Linked DNA regions of Homo sapiens: region 2 is linked to region 1. The links are contacts of gene promoters, found by promoter capture Hi-C in human tissues and cell types (Jung and others, 2019). All regions are on one chromosome and are shown on one strand. Each heading gives the region's core, a stretch centred on a gene start or on the middle of the fragment in contact. The rest is flanking DNA. Distances are from core to core; before and after follow the strand shown.

What was found. Contacts are between HindIII fragments. The study calls those that stand out against the background at their distance.
Region 2: a contact is called between a fragment that was not itself captured here and the fragment with the promoter of METTL4 in region 1, in 5 of the 25 tissues and cell types used here (H1 embryonic stem cells, IMR-90 fibroblasts, dorsolateral prefrontal cortex and 2 more).

Annotation. Positions count from the first base shown.
Region 1 is chr18:2,570,247-2,572,946 of GRCh38, forward strand. It overlaps METTL4 (methyltransferase 4, N6-adenosine), which reads right to left and starts at 1,259. Exons shown (of 9, transcript NM_022840.5): 1 at 903-1,259. NDC80 (NDC80 kinetochore complex component) reads left to right here and starts at 1,311. Exons shown (of 17, transcript NM_006101.3): 1 at 1,311-1,437. RefSeq lists enhancers at 352-1,274, 1,157-1,316. The HindIII fragment of the contact is 12,565 bases long and covers 1-2,700 here.
Region 2 is chr18:2,263,315-2,266,014 of GRCh38, forward strand. No RefSeq gene overlaps it. Among named protein-coding and RNA genes, the nearest start is that of METTL4, 310 kb to the right of the region's middle. The HindIII fragment of the contact is 8,974 bases long and covers 1-2,700 here.

The DNA of each region.
Region 1 (2,700 bases), core at 9-2,508:
TGCTTCTCAAGATCCTCAGCAGGGATTAAGAAGTTGGGGTGCACAGCAGGAATATCAGGAAATTGGCAGGCTTGACTTCCTGGCAAATTGCTAGCAGGACCACTAAATGCTGAACTGTACTGTGAATGTATACCGAAATACAAGCAATTATTTCTGTACTAAAGGTGTTTTTAATTTTGTATTTGTGTAAAACCACCTTTGGAAGCAGCAACTATCTAGTCAGAAAAGCAAATGATGTTTCCATTAATCTTTTCTGGGGAAAACATTAGTGCTAAGGATTTAACAATCTGTAGGTAAAGTTTAACCTAACAGTATTCCACAAGGAGACTTTTTATTATCAGACGGTTGCCTAATTTTCATATAATTTTTATATTAATATAATCCTTGGTTCCTCCCCATCCCCTTCATAGGCCACAGCTGAGGTGAAAAGGGTCCTGGAATGGCTAGTGAGAGCTAGAAATTCAGACGGGAAAATTGAAACTCAGAGCAGAAAGGCAAGCTGCCCAAAAATAACAACGCTAGTTAATGGCACAATTGCTACCAGACCCAAGTATCCAGACTTCCTGGAGCTGTGAGATCTTTCATCACCACCACTCTCCAGGTACCGGGCAGTGCCTGTTTCTGGATTCAAACTCACAGCAGCGAGGAAATCCTATTTTAGCAAAGTGATCTACTGTTACTGTTGTTAGTGCACCCCTCTCCTGCGTCTCTGCTTCACATCCACTCCCTCGCCGCCCGCCCCCAAACACTTGGATTCTTCCTAGCCTCTCACAGGTCAGCCACCACCAGAGGACCGTGAGCCTCCGGCAAGTGATCAAATACTGAGCCCGAATTTCGGCAGCCGTACCAACGCAATCCTGGGAGCCCATTCCACCCACTCCGCAGCCCCTCTCCCACCTCACCTCTTCCCTTGTCAGAAAAGCGGACGCCGCCTTCCCAGACTCTCCTCATGAAAACAGCACCCATCTAAATAGTGATCATGAAAAATGCCCCTTCCAGTCCACAGAGAAAAAGCTTTCTCCTTTTCTAAGAGTCCATGGGCGCCGCCATGTTGCTGTACGGAAAAACGTTTCCAGGGCGAGTTGAGCGTTCAGGGCACTCCTCGGCGCTCAAGCTGCCCACAGGTCTTCCGACCTAACTTTAGGGGTCGTGCCAGTCTTCGTAGAGACGGCCACACTGGCCCACAGACCCCAGTTCCTGGGGTGACGCAGCTGGGCGCGACCAGCACGCAGCCTTCCAGCGACGAGGCGGTCGCATGGAAGTTACTGCGCGCGTCGTGCGTAATGACGTCAGCGCCGGCGGAGAATTTCAAATTCGAACGGCTTTGGCGGGCCGAGGAAGGACCTGGTGTTTTGATGACCGCTGTCCTGTCTAGCAGATACTTGCACGGTTTACAGAAATTCGGTCCCTGGGTCGTGTCAGGAAACTGGAAAAAAGGTGACTGAATGACATCGGATTAACTTTGTTTCTGCAGAGCTGTTCTGGAGGAAGAAAGTGATGGCGCCAATGACTTAAATTTAGAGGTCCTGAGGCGATGTTTTGGTGTTTGTTTGCTGTTGGGAGAAGCCTCGAGGCCAAAACTGTGCGAGGCGCTGGTTTCACGGGATCTATTAAATTTCTAGTGGCAACGATTTCCCAAGGAGGAAAGGGGAGGGCCTGGGGGACACTGATGAGGAGTGGAGGCTCGGGAGAGGAAACGGGGAAGAATTGAAGGGGGCGGAAAGAGATGGACAAGAGAGGACTCGTTGGGTGGGTTGCGTCTGAATACTAGTGTAGCTTCTTATGGCCGTGTAGGACTGCGTGTAGAAGTCTTCATCTTAAATCATGAGAGCTACATTCTAAGTGGAGATTAAACGTGGACACACAGGTGTGAGTGGAAAAGTTGAATAGATGAACAAGCGCATATTGAAGAGGAAATAGGCGGCCAAAATCAAGAAGAGTCTAATCAGTGTAAAAGACTAAGGAGTACCCAGAGAAGTAAAAGGATTGTCACCTTCCTGAAAGCCAGGGCAGGACCTGAGAAGGCTGGGTGCAGAGATGAGACAGGATCAAAAGTTTTGTCAATCATGTGTATCCTAGGAGACAAATTTTTTAGCAGATGTGAAGGGAGTGACCTGTTAATGTGGTTTGTAAATGGAGGCAGCCTATAGACCATTTTATGGACCGGATGATTTATCCTTGTTGAAGGGGAGATTGATGCCAAAAGGGCAGTAATTGAGGAAACAATGGGTTAAGGACAGAGCAGGAGAGATTGACATTAGGAAAACAGAATAATTCCATTCTCTGAAACCAAAGAAAAGGAAACATTTTGAGGTGAATAAGAGAATTTGAGGTAATTTTTTTGTCTTCCTATTGAAATAGGCACAGCCAACAGCAGTAATGTGGTCTGGGTAACAGACAGGGCTTTAGCTACCACGGATACCCTTGTGAAGGCAAAAACCGTAACTTACTCGTCTTTGCATCTCCTGCATTGCCTAGCACACTCCCCTATATATATAGTGGGCAGTTAATAAATGTTTATGTTGAATATTTTTAAATGGAATTAAATAGATGTTCCTTGCAAATGAGAACTTCAGTGTACATGAACAAAAAAGAGATACCCCAGGGGAAAGATGATGATCTTGAAGAAACAATGAAACCTGACTGTCTTTCTGTTTAAGGATAAATAGTTGCTTAATGTACCATCTCTGTCTGGAAAGT
Region 2 (2,700 bases), core at 123-2,622, 310 kb before region 1:
GCAAAGTCAACCCTCAAGGAACATGAGATGAGAGTAGAAAATAATGCTTGGATGTTGTAAGCCACTAAAATGTGTCACCACAGGGAGACATTACCTCTGCTGACCGGTCCCAGAGGCCAGCATGTCGCCCATCCCGGCACATGGCAGAGGAAACCCAGAGCAGGGCTGTCGTGCCCCCGTGCGTCAGTTAACCCTGAACACCAGTTCCCAGCCCCACACTGTAGCTGCTAAGCAGCAGCCAGGTTCCTCAACAGGTACTCAATTTTGAGCAGAGAATTAGGAGAGCTCTGACTTCTCAGTTTTTATAGAGTGCCCGGCTGTGTTGCACCAAGTCAGACAGGGAGAATGCCATCTGTCAGCCGTGGCATTCTGAATGAATCTTAAGGCACATCATTTAGAGAGAATGCTATAATAGAAAATGAAAGGCAGCATGATGTAAAAGGAACAAAGGCCCTGTTCTGCAGTTCCAAAGCTTTTACCTGGCAAAATTTAAACCAATATGTTGACAAAAATCAATGAAAGAAAACTATGCTCTCAAAGATTGTTGTGTAACAAGGGGGAAGTCTTGAGATGCTCAAATCTAAGAGTTTCCAAGTGGCATGCAAAATTTCATGTCATTTCTCCACATCTTTGGGAATATGGTGGGTGTTAGTTACCTAATCAACAGTTAACATAATCATCGTTCTGTTCTGAATCTAAGGTAGATTCTTCCATTTGAAAATTCAAAATTCACAGTTTTATGGCTCATTAAGACCCTTCCCTGGTCCCTAGGGGCAGCTACCCCTCAATGCTGCCCCCACTCCACAATACCAGTATTGATGGTCAAATTCACCTCTGCCTAGCATTCCCCTCCCTATTGGAGGTGCTGTCAAAACAGCATGCATGCCCTCCAATTCAGCAGCTTGAAGAGAGCATCTTTGAGATTTCATTACCCAGCACAATGGACTGACTGTTAATGTTCACAATGGTCATGTGAATATTCTTCACATAAGCAAAATTCATAAGTTGTAATCCTAACCCCCAGTGTGATGGTTATTAGGATGTAGGGCTTTTGAGAGGTGATTGGGTCATAAGGGGTCTCATGAATGAAATTAGTGCCCTTTAAAGAAAAGACATGAGAGTTTGCTTTGTCTGCAGTCCACCACATGAGAATACAAGGAGAAGGTGGCTGTCAGCAACCCAGAAGAGAGCCCTCACCAGAACCCGATTATATTTACATTAGCTCAATGATCTCAGACTTCCAGCCTCCAGAACTATGGGAAATGAATGTCTGTTATTTATAAGACAGTCTGGGGTATGTTGTTATATTATAGCCTGAGCTAACTAAGACACCTGGACCCACAGATGACACTGGTCATCATATCCTGCTAAACATCCATCCTTTAGATATCTATCAGTGTCCCTGCAGATGGCTCTGAGAGGAACACTGGTGTGGGTGAACAAGAAAAGCATTCCAAGTGAACAGCCATGGCAGAGGTTCTGCGGACTCTCTAGGCTCCCTGCCCTGGCATACATAGCCCCAGGGTTCTTTCCTCATGGTAACTACATAGTGCAGGAGACTGTGGTTACTTTACTTCTGAGATTCTCTTCAATGCAAAATTTATTCTTATAAGTTTGTGTATTAAGTTATGTTATATTAATTTTATGTATTACATTATTTTTCTACATTTGTATTATAGAAACACTTTCATAGATTATTTCAAAGAATAATTCTTTTATTTTTTTTTGTTGGTTTGTTTTTGAGATGGGGTCTCGCTCTGTTGCCCAGCCTGGAGTGCAGTGGTGCAATCTCAGCTCACTGCAGCCTCTGCCTCCTGGGTTCAAGCGATTATCCTACAATTCTCCTATCTCAGCCTCCTGGGTAGCTGGGACTACAGGCACTCGCCACCACACCCAGCTAACTTTTATGTTTTTAGTAGAGACAGAGTTTCACTATGTTGGCCAGGATGGTCTCAAACTCCTGACGTCAAGTGATCTGCCCACCTTGGCCTCCCAAAGTGCTGGAATAACAGACGTGAGCCACCGTGCCCGACAAAGAATAATTTTAAATGTCCCTAAAGCTGCGCTGTGAAACTGTGAACTGTGATTGGAAGAACAGTTGACTCCTGAACAACACAGGTTTGAATTGTATGAATCCACTTATACGCAGATTTTCTTCCACCTCTTCTACCCATGAGACAGCAAGACCAACCCATCTTCTTCCTCCTCCTCCCCAGCCTACTCAACATGAAGATGATGAGGCTGAAGACCTTCATGATGATCCACTTCCACTTAATGAAGAGTGCATCTATTTTCTCTTCCTATGGTTTTCTTAATAGCATTGTTTTCTTTACTTTATTTTAAGAATATAGTATATAATACATATAAAATACAAAATAATGTGTTAATCAACTGTTTGTGTTATCAGTGAGGCTTCCATCAAGAGTAGGCTCTTAGTCGTTAAGTTTCTGGGAGTCAAAAGTTATGCGCAGATTTTCAACTGCACGGGGGTCCACACCCCAAGCCTCACTTTATGCAAGGGTCAACTGTATTGGCAATGTAATAAAATCCATTCACAGCCCTTCATTCTTCTAAGGCTTTGACTTTTCCTGCATTTCAACTATTATTCAAAGATGGCAGCATCTTAAGGCCAAAACTATGTTTCCAGGTCCTCCTTTCCCTTTTATTTCTTTCTTATACTAACTCCTACATTTTTGTTAC